Regions from separate parts of the Homo sapiens genome. Here regions 1 and 3 are each linked to region 2. Evidence: promoter capture Hi-C in 16 types of primary human blood cells and fetal thymus (Javierre and others, 2016). All regions are on one chromosome and are shown on one strand. The core of a region is centred on a gene start or on the middle of the fragment in contact, and the rest is flanking DNA. Distances in the headings are between cores, read along the strand shown.

The links. The method cuts DNA at HindIII sites, captures the fragments that hold promoters and counts their contacts. A CHiCAGO score of 5 or more calls a contact.
Region 1: a contact is called between a fragment that was not itself captured here and the fragment with the promoter of PEX26 in region 2, in 2 of 17 cell types (total B cells and naive B cells). The highest score is 9.7, in total B cells.
Region 3: a contact is called between a fragment that was not itself captured here and the fragment with the promoter of PEX26 in region 2, in 1 of 17 cell types (total B cells). The highest score is 5.2, in total B cells.

What each region holds. Positions count from the first base shown.
Region 1 is chr22:17,993,480-17,997,093 of GRCh38, reverse strand. The region is part of intron 1 of MICAL3 (microtubule associated monooxygenase, calponin and LIM domain containing 3); the gene reads left to right. Among named protein-coding and RNA genes, the nearest start is that of MIR648, 14 kb to the right of the region's middle. RefSeq lists enhancers at 454-653, 2,245-2,745, 2,746-3,246. The HindIII fragment of the contact is 7,510 bases long and covers 1-3,614 here.
Region 2 is chr22:18,076,439-18,079,995 of GRCh38, reverse strand. It overlaps PEX26 (peroxisomal biogenesis factor 26), which reads right to left and starts at 2,006. Exons shown (of 5, transcript NM_001127649.3): 1 at 1,390-2,006; 2 at 1-122. The coding sequence starts at 1,619. It overlaps LOC105372853 (a long non-coding RNA gene), which reads right to left. Exons shown (of 6, transcript XR_001755424.2): 6 at 2,100-2,338. RefSeq lists enhancers at 1,183-1,232, 1,713-1,942, 2,273-2,332 and a silencer at 1,593-1,642. The HindIII fragment of the contact is 13,258 bases long and covers 1-3,127 here.
Region 3 is chr22:17,971,236-17,974,641 of GRCh38, reverse strand. All of the region lies in intron 1 of MICAL3 (microtubule associated monooxygenase, calponin and LIM domain containing 3), which reads left to right. Among named protein-coding and RNA genes, the nearest start is that of MIR648, 8.0 kb to the left of the region's middle. RefSeq lists an enhancer at 495-1,047. The HindIII fragment of the contact is 8,182 bases long and covers 1-3,406 here.

The DNA of each region.
Region 1 (3,614 bases), core at 1,115-3,614, 83 kb after region 2:
ACAGAGCAAGACTCTGTCTCAAAAAAAAAAAAAAAAAAAAAAAGACTAGATGGGGAGATGAGGGACAGAGAGAATCAAAGAGAATCAAAGTGGTTTGTGGACAGAGGAAATGAGTGATACTCTGACCCAGAGGCCATCTTTAGTGTCCAGGCCATTTTGCTTGAGCTGCTGGTGAAACTGTGAAACTGGAGGCATGGCACTTGGGCTAAAGTCTGTGCGGTGAATAAGGCCCTCAGTTTCTGCTTTAGGTGGCAGAGCTGAAAATCTGATTCCTTTTTGGTCTTTAGCTTCCGGTGTACTTCAATGCAGTACATTGTGGGCGTGGTGGGGATGTGGTTCAGAAATTTACCTAAACTCTGTGGACTTCCCCCTCTCTCCAGCCACGCACTCTGTCATCTTTGGTTCCAGTCTTTAGAATTCAGCTCGGATCCCCTGGGTGATGGGTGGTGTCAGACACTCAGGTGCTTGGATTGCCCCGGTGGAGAGAACAGCATCCTGCCCCCATGGGCTTCAGTTGTACGTGACTTGCTGTTTTCTTGGAGGTGGGCTTTAGTCATCTCTAGCTATAAAGACACAAAAAAACTGGGAAGAATGACCAGGAAACTGTCACCCCAAGCCTTGCAGTTGATTGCATTTTTTTTTTTTTTTCTGAGATGGAGTCTTGCTCTGTGGGCCAGGCTGGAGTGCAGTGGCACGACCTCGGCTCACTGCAAGCTCCGCCTCCCGGGTTCACACCATTCTCCTGCCTCAGCCTCCCGAGTAGCTGGGACTACAGGCACCTGCCACCATGCCCGGCTAATTTTCTGTATTTTTTTTTTAGTAGAGACAAGGTTTCACCGTGTTAGCCAGGATGGTCTCGATCTCCTGACCTTGTGATCCACTGGCCTCGGCCTCCCAAAGTGTTGGGATTACAGGTGTGAGCCACTGTGCCCAGCCTTTTTTTTTTTTTTTTTTTTTTTAAATTGAGACAGCATCTCACTCTGCCACCTAGGCTGGAGTGCAGTGGTGCGATCATGGTTCACTGCAACCTTGACTGCCTGAGTAGTTGAGACTACAGGCGTGCACCACCAAGCCTGGCTAATTTTTAAAATTTTTTGTAGAGATGGGGTTTTGCCACATTGTCCAGGCTGGTCTAGAGCTCCTGGGCTCGAACAATTTGCCTGCCTCAGCCTCTCAAAGTGCTGGGATTACAGGTGTGAGCCACCATGCCTGGCCCCATTGACTTTTTCTCATTGGTGAGTTCAACAGAGGAGAGATGATTGCCGCAGTTTTAAAAAAGAAAAGAGGCCAGGTGTGGTGGGTCATGCCTGTAATCCCAGCCCTTTGAGAGGCCGAGGTGGGCAGATCACCTGAGGTGAGGAGTTCCAGACCAGCCTGGCCAACATGGTGAAACTCTGTCTCTACAAAAAAAATACAAAAAATAGCCAGGTGTGGGTGTTGCACACTTGTATTCCCAGCTACTCAGGAGGATGAGGTAGGTGGATCATTTGAGCCTGGGAGGCCAAGGCTGCAGTGAGCGGAGATCGCACCACTGCATTCCAGCCTTGGTGATAGAGCAAGACCCTACTGTCCCAAAAAAAAAAAAAAAAAAAAAAAAAAAAATTAAAGAAAAGGCTGGGTGCAATGTCTCACGTCTGTAATCCCAGCACTTTGAGAGGCTGGGCCAAGGTAGGAGTATTGCTTGAGGCCAGGAGTTTGAGACCAGCCTGCGCAACATAGTGAGACCCTGTCTCTACAAAAATTTTAAAAATTAGCCGGGCATGGTGGTGTACACCTATAGTCGCAGCTGCTCAGAAGGCTGAGGTGGGAGGATCACTTGAGGCCAGGAGTTTGAGGCTGCAGTGAGCTATAATCACACCACTGCATTCCAGTCTGGGTGACAGAGTGAGACCCTGTCTCTTAAAAGAAAAAGGGAGGACAGAAATCAGATTAAAGAAGAGAGAAGAAGTGAGACTGTTGGCTTATACCTTGATGAAAGGTGGAAGCGGAAGGGCAAGAGCTTCTGCTAAGTAGTGAGGACCTTGGCAAGGACAACAGTATCTTTTTCGTGTTCTGTTAGGCCGTGTCTCTCTAGCGCCCAGCTCAGAGTGCATGTGTGTTATGTGTGAGGGAATCTAGTGAGGAGTCTTCCTGCATTAGGCACGTCTGCAGGTGTCTGTTGAATTGTATATCTGTTGAAGGATTCAGTCTGGTTAACTCTGGCAGGAGATTCGGTCTGGTTAACTCTGGCAGGAGAGGGATGGACAGCACAGCCTTGTGGTTAACTAGTGGCTTTTATTGACTTTTCCTGTGTAAAGGCGAAATAAACCTTAGTGGGTCCCAGGCTTCTCTTCTCTCCTGCCCATGCTTCTTTTTTTTTCTTTTTTTTTTTTGAGACAGAGTCTTACTCTGTGGCCCCGGCTGGAGTGGCCCCAGCTGGAGTGGCATGATCTCGGCTCACTGCAGCCTTGACCTCCTGGGCCAGGCCATCCCCCAACCTCAGCCTCCTGAGTAGCTGGGACTACAGGCCCACACCACCACACCCGACTAATTTTTAAATTTTGTGGAGAGACAAGCTCTCTCTGTGTTGCCCAGTCTGGTCTTGAACTGCTGGGCTCAGGTGATCCCTGCAAAGTGCTGGGATTACAGGCACCCCACTGCACCCAGCCCTCTGTCTCTTTTCTGTTGCCAGTTGAAGTCTGGAGGTAGCATGGGTCCCGGGAGGCCAGTGCCAGTGTTGGAAGCCAAGAGAGGAGGAGCAGCTTGGTCAGGGGGAAGATGCAGAGTGCTCACTCCTGGCACCTGGAGCCCCCAGGGGAATGGCAGCTACCCTTTAGCGTGGACTGTCCCCAGCCCACAGAAAGTCAGCTTACAGAGGTTCTAGCCATATTCCTCCCTCCTCCACCAACAAAGCTCCTTGTTGTGGCTGAGAATTGTCAGGCTGTGATGGGACAGGGACAGGGGTGGGAGAGCAGCACCTGGCGCTGATGAGCACAGCAGCGATGGCAGCATCAGAGATGCTTAGAGACTGTTGGCCATGCCACACTGTCCTGAGTGCCCACGTGTCTTAACGCGCTCAGTCCTCACCACAGCGGACAGACGGGGTGCTGTTATGATCCCTGCTTTTCACACTAGGAAGTGGGGCACAGAGGGCTAAAACAAGTGGTGGCGTCAGGATTTAGATGAAGGCATTGGGTTTTGGACTTGTGGTGTCACAGACCAGTTGAGGGCAACTGACTTGGGCATATTCCACGGGGTTACCTCCGTCCTGGGGGGTCACCGCTTCCTGTCTTCAGACCCCTCCTCCATATTTCCCTCTCTTCACTCTTGAGTTCTCTCTCTGAAGTGCCAGGAGAGGTGCATTGAGGTTAGTTGGCATATTCCTTGAAATATTCCTGGCCTGCTTCTCAGGGGGCAGAGTCAGGAGGTAATTCTGAAGCACTGGGAGGAGAGTGTGGGCGCAGGGGGGCTTCCCGGGGGGCACTTAAGACACTGTGTGTTCAGGAACCTGGGGGCTGTGCCTTGGGAATCCAGAGAGTGCTGAGGGCTGCCCTGCTCCTGGAAAAGATGAAGAAGCCCTTCTCTTCCTTCTGATTCCCAAGTTGTGGAACCCAAGCAGATCCATTATTGCCCCA
Region 2 (3,557 bases), core at 757-3,256:
GGGGTAGCTTTTCAGGGACCTGGTAATACTGAAGGACCCAGGAGAGGACTTCTTGCCACCGATCCATTTCTGCCAGGGCCTGGATCCCCACAACACACAGGGAGCACTTCACCTCCAATGAGCTGTCAGCAGAAAAACCAATTTCAGTTAGAAGTGGTTCCCCTCCATTTCCATTCCCACCTCCACCTTGGGACTGTTCCTCTCCAGCTCCCAACTCAGCAGCCATCATCTCTCTCATCCCTGTTAGTATTTAGATGGGCTTCACAATTGGTCTCATGGGCTGCCCTTTCCCCCAGGAACTAAAAGTTCCTGTAACCCTCTTTCAAGAGGCAAGTCAGCTGTTGCTCAACGTTCATCTTTGTATCCAGGTGAAATCAGATTTAAATGAAGAGGAAGGGTAATCCTGAGGGGGAAATAACACACAGCACCGGTGTGTGGCTGAAAAGAGAGCTGGAACTAAGAGTTTGCTCTGTGAACAAATGGGCTTGGAGCAAGGTTTCTGGCTGAGTGGAGGTATAGACTCCATAGCTGGCTAAAAGGCACCACCTAGTAAGGTTCCTCCAGACACCCAGAAGCAAAGCCTTCTGCATTCACTGAAATGAGCTCCCACCCAGTCCCCTAAAACACAGCCAGGGCTCTCCAGATCATCCTTCTTTGTGGTCAACTTTAGCTATTCTACCTACCACCTCCCTAGCGTGGCCTAACCCAAGTTTACAATGCAAAGAAATGACTCCCTCACCTGCCAGACGAGGCTGGTGGCATTAGAAAGAGCAATGCAAGCCCAAGGTTTTTTTCTCCGGATTCTTTTCTTTTTCTTCTTTTTGGTAGAGAAGAGGGCTCATTATGTTACCCAGGCTGGTCTCGAACTCCTGGGCTCAAGCAATCCTCCTGCCTCGGCCTCCCAAAGTGCTGGGATTACAGGCGTAAGCCCCAGCTCCCGGCCCTGAATTAATTCTTTAATCCAGTCCTCTAATTGGACCAGAACGCTGCTCCTGCCATGACCCCCATTCCCCATCATCAGCCAAGGTCAGGAATAAACAACCTTGGGCGGGGCGGGGAGGGCGGAGGTACCTGGGAGAGGACTTTTACCACCTGCTTACTGACAGAACTTAGCACTTAATACACATTCAGCCTTCCCATCATGTCATTGTACCTTGGAACAAGGAGCAAATAATTGGCTGTGGGATCCCCACTAAGTTTTTGTTACACGACTTCCCTTCTCTGTAGAATGGGCACACGATGAGCGACCACCCTCTCGGAGACAAACCACTGATGAAAGCGAGGTGTAAAGCTCCTTGTGGGCAATCTGGGAAGGACAGAACTCCTGAGACCTTGAGCCCCACCACAAGAGCGCCCGGAAATCGGTTCATTTCCGAGCCCAGCACGTACGTGCCCGCGGGTTCCTCTGCCACGGCGTGGTTGGCCAGACTCTGCCAGGCCCGCTCGCAGGTCTCCAGCGCCGCCCGGAAGTCCAGGTGCACCACCAGGAGGTCGGCCGCCTCCTCCAGAAGGTCCACGGCCGGCGCCCGGGCCGGGACCGCGCGCACCGGCTCGCTGCTGCGCAGGGGTCCCCCGAGCCCCCTGAGGGGGGCTGCAGAGGTCGAAGAATCGCTCTTCATAACGAGTCCGGGTCCAAGGCCCAGGTCCTCAGACGTCGGAGTGACCGCCTCCCCAGAGGCTCCGGGATATCCCGAGTTGGCCTGGGCGAAGAGGGAGAGTCCTCATCTCTTTGCCCACACCCCTTCCCGAGGTCGATTCCCCGAGAAGGAAAAGGAAGGGGCCTATCTGAGGCAAAAGCTGGGCTCGCCTGGAGGCTGGGGAAGCAGTTTACACGTCAGATTTGCAGGATTCTTGCATCCCTGGAATACCTGGCCCTAGCTTCTCCGGCCCCGCGACACGTGCAGGAACTGCCTCAGCTCCGGGCTCCTGGTTACGATCAAAGACTCACCTCGCCTCCCGGCAGCGGGCGCGGACATCTTTGCGCTCGCCCAGCCCCGCAGCCGCGCGGCGTCCCGGCGGCGCGGAGTACTCTAGGAGTTGTAGTTCCTCAGCTCTCGGCCCATCGCCTTCTGTAATGGAAGTAGGAGGCAGAGCGCGGACTACAACCCCCAGCACGCCGCGCCCCGGAAGCCGCCCCTGTGCCGTGAGAAAACAAACTGGTGCTACAGCTTCGGGGTGCGGAAGTCAAAACGAAGCAAAACCGAAGCTGTCTTGTGAAATGGAGGGGTCCTCACTAACCAGTTCCAGCGGAGGCTAACGGAAGAAGTGCCAGCAATGGATGTGCAGCTACATGCACGCTTTTAATTCAGAGCTTCTGCGACGGTGGCGATCAGGGGATCTGTAATGTAATGTAATGTCAAGGCTGACGCAGAGCTGATCAAACATTTTGGCAACCTTAGTCTTGAATTGATTCACACTTTCTCCGCGTTGCCTCCGGAGTTTGCTGTAGGGTAATGAATATTGCCTGGTGAGGATGAGGGACTTAGGGTGGAAACCTTCACAAGGACCACTGAGAATATGTTGGTCCCAAGGGCAATGTTCCAAAATGAATAGTGACCCCACCGAGGCGGGGTTGGGGGCGCTGAGCATAAGGGCCTCATTTTTCTCACTGCTCTCTGCCCCATCCTGAATTTGCTGTTAAAAAACAACGTTAAATGCAGATACCAATTCCACTTCCCCACTGTTGTCACTTCCGATCTGTCTTTATATTTCTCCTTATCATTTATCACCATCTACATACCAATGTCTATATTTTACTTATTTTTATTGTCTATTTCCTTCCACTATGATATAAACTCACAAAGGCAGACGTTTTTGTCTCTTTTGTTCACTGTGGGAACCTCAATGCCTTGAACAGTGCCTGTCATCTATAGGTAGTCAAAAAGTATTTGTGGAATAAATGAAGTCCTGGTTTCACTTTTATCTGGTTACAGGGTCCAGACTTCTCTTTCCTCGGAGTCTGGTGGACTTGGTTCTGCCTCAGCTTCCCATGCAGACTTTTCTGCAAGAGAACGGAAATCCCAGAAGATGGATGTGTGCATGTCTGGTGACAAGGGCAGGGGATGTATGATGTGAGCAGGTGCCTGTTTAATCTAATTTCTAGGAGAGCAAAGATTCTAGGGAAGCTTTGGAGTGAATTCAAAGGGTAGAGAACTGGGGAGAAACTAAAGCCAAGAGGATCTAGTACAAATGTGGGAAGCTTGGCAAAGCCCGGGTGAAACAGAATATAATAATAAGTGTGATTTGTGGATCTGTTTAAAATTATTATTATAGTTACAATTTACCAAATACTCTGTTCCCAGTACTTTACTATAAAGTGCATTATGTACGGTATGGTTTTGTTTTTCACAATGTCCTTATTTTACATTGTGTAACTTGCTCATGGAATGACTGTGTATCCCCTGAATAGCAAACATACTTAGTTCTGTCCCTGCAGAGCAGAGTAGAGCTCAATACACATCTTTGAACCAAAAGAGCCTCGGTTTGACTGAGATTTTGTCGCTTACTAGTTGTGTGACCTCGGCAATTTATTTAAATAAGCTCTGATTTCCTCACCT
Region 3 (3,406 bases), core at 814-3,313, 110 kb after region 2:
AGCGATTCTCCTGCCTCAGCCTCCCAAGTAGCTGGAATTACAGGTGCGTGCCACCATGCCCAGCTAATTTTTTATTTTTAGTAGAGACAAGGTTTTGCCATGTTGGCCAGGCTGGTCTGGAACGCCAACCTCCACCTCCCAGGTTCAAGCAATTCTCCTCCTTTGGCCTCCCAAAGTGTTGGGATTATAGGCGTGAGCCACCACACCTGGCCTCACACAGCTCTTATAAATGTATCAGGTTTGAGTAAAACATGAAATGTGGAAATAGCAGCAGTACTAGTAATTCCCGTTTATTGAGCAACTTCTGTGTGCCAGGCCATGCAGCATAGGCTCTGCTGTACATACCATCACTTACTTCTCACAGCAGTCCCCTGAAGCCTGTTTTATCAGCACTGTTGAGGGCCAGGCCCAGGGCAGACAGCAGGGTGGTGGAGCTGGTCTTCCTCACAAAGCCCTAGGGAGCTGGGCTTTGCTCTTGACTGCCTCGTCACTTTCCTTACCTGTGTTCACCCTGGGAGCCAGAGTAACAGGAAAGTCATTCTTTGCCCTGAGCCTGGAATTTTGGCAGCTCACATAAACCATGGCCCAGAGGGAAGTATGATTTCCAGGATATAAACCATTTTTGGGTGAGTCTTCAGTCTTTTCTGTTGTGATAAATAGGAGGAGGAGCTCAGGGGACTTGTTTTTTATTTATGTATCTTAAACATTTTTAAATTTAATCTCTTTTGAGACAGCATCTCACTGTGTTGCTGGAGTGCAGTGGTGCGACCACAGCTTACTGCAGCCTCGACCTCCCAGGTGCAAATGATCCTCCCACCTCAGCCTCCCCAGTAGCTGGGACCACAAGTGCGTGCCACCATGCCTGGCTAATTTTTTGTAGAGACGGCGTCTCACCGTGTTGCCCAGGCTGGTGTCAAACTCCCGGGCTCAACTCATCTTCCTGCCTCGACCTTCCAAAGTGCAGGGATTTCAGGTGTGAGCCATCGCACTTGGCCAGCCTGTCTTTTCGAAAGGGCCCATGATTTGCCTGCGTCTAAGCCTGGCTCTGATTGGTCTCCCTTCTGCACACAGCAGACACCCAAACTCTGAACTGCCACCCCGGTTCCACAGTGGGGCTGGAAGGGGTCGGTTGTGGCCATCAGCTTCACACCCTGTGCTGCTTCCACTATCATGACCTATGTGTGGCTCCGTCCTGGGCCTCATGATGATCAAGCCGGTGTCCCAGGCCCTGTTGGGAAGGATCATATGCTCAGTTACATACCCTACAGAAGTAAGTCTCTTATCAGATTTCAGACTGGTAGAAAGTTTCTCCCATTTGGTAAGCCGTCTTTTCTGATGTCCTTTGAACTACAACATTCCCTCCCCAGGCTCCCCCCACCTTTGTTTTCCCCATGGTGAGGCTTGGCAAGTGTTGATGCCACAGGGCATGAGTGAAGAGGGTGGTAGCAGCGCCTCTGTCTGCATGCACACACCTCTCTTCTCCCTTTTCCCCCCATCTGGGTGGTGAAGGAGGCTTACTCACCCCACAGAAGAGTCAGAAGTAAAGACCCACAGCAAGTAGGCTCGGAGTCACAGGATGCTCCTTAAAGAACTGAGAACTATTGGGCATGGCTGAGGGCCCCTTGTAGCCAGAGGTGGGCAGCCCACGTGGGCCCGGCTGGGCAAGGCGCAACATGCCTGACGTGCAGGGGCCTGAGGGCAGGTCTGGGTGGGCATTGTAGGGGCTGCAGGCGCTTGGGGGCTGGCAGTGCCAAAGGCTACTTAAGCTGACGGGTCAGGTTACAGTTGCTGTGGGAACTGTGACCTTTGAATTTCCTGGCTTATGCATGGAATTTCAGTTGCACAATACTACAACAATTTGGATTATTTTTCCTCCCTTTCCTCTCCCTCCTTGGCACTTAATTTTTTATCCCAGTGAATGAGATCCATAGCTCTCTGCCCTTGCCCTTTTTCCTGGGGCAGACAGTCTTACTCACCTTCCTTCTCCTGCTGCCCCAAAGTGTGCCTGCCAGGAGACCAGCCCCGGACCCTGACCTGTGGGAATCTTCCTTCTGCCTCCAAGGCCCTGAAGATGGGGGTGAGCTGCCCGGGATGGGCTGTTGTGTGTTGTAGGCGGGCTCAACCTTTCTGTGTGCTTACCCCTCCCCGATGTGCCTTGCTGTCCCTACTCCCGTACGTCCGTTCACCTGTTGCGTGTGCCTGGTCCACCCTCCCAGGTAGCTTAGCCTGGTTCGCTCCAGATTTCAGTTTCTACTTGGAGTCCCACCCTCTTTGGGAAACCCGTTGTCACCACCTTACCTGGGAATTATTTCCCCTTCCAGTGGACCATGTGACTTGAACATTTCATCTGGTGTTTAATCAGATACTGCCTCAGGATATATATTTTCTTGTCTCAAGATTTTTTTGTTTTTTGTTTGAGATGGGATGGTCTGGTTCCTTTTTTCTACAAACCAAATTATAAAATTTGAGGGCCAAGATTTTAACAGTACCTTGCTTATTAAATAGCCACTGGTTTGTAACTGATTTGCTGAACTGAGCATGTGTTCTTAGTGTTTGCCTTGAGGAGCGCACTGGGCTTGGGAACAATGAAAGATGTAGGAAAAAGCAAGGTCCTTGCATCCAGATTCGTTAAGAGGCCTTGCCTGGCCTTGTGTGGAGTGGCCTGCCTGCCTTGCCATCCTCCTCTTCCTCTCTCACTGAGCCCTGAGCCCACTGGCCGGTGGTCCTGGAAGGCCATGTGCATTGTCGCCTGTGCCGGTGCACGTGTGCTGCTTCTGCCCCTGGAGCAAGCTCCTCCTTTCCCTGGGCATCCTCCCTCCCGGGTCGGGCTGGATACCTCTTCATTACCACCTGAAGGGCCAGGGGGCCCCTTCCGATGTTCTGTCTTAGGTTCTGCTGTTCTTTTTCTCACAGTGTGTAAGTATGGATGTATCTATATATTGACGTTTTTACACCGATGGCTGTGTCCACCACTGTCCTTCCATCTCTGGGGCACAGGAGACATAGGAGTTCTGTTCACATTCTGTGCTTAGCCCCAACACAGTGTCTGGTGCCTGTGTATGCTAGATGAATGCTAGATGTATGCTAGATGAATGCTAGATGAATGCTAGATGAATGCAGTCAATGCTAGATGAATGATGAGGTTTTTTGTTTGTTTGTTTTGACATGGAGTCTTGCACTGTCGCCCAGGCTGGAGTGCAATGGTGCGATAGCTCACTGCAACCTCCGCCTCCCGGGTTCAAGCGATTCTCCTGCTGAGGCTGAGGAGGCCTCAGCCTCCCAAGTAGCTGGGATTACAGACACACAACACCATGCCCAGCTAATTTTTTGTATTTTAGTAGAGATGGGGTTTCACCATGTTGGCCAGGCTGGTCTCAAACTCCTGACCTCAAGTGATCTGCCTGCC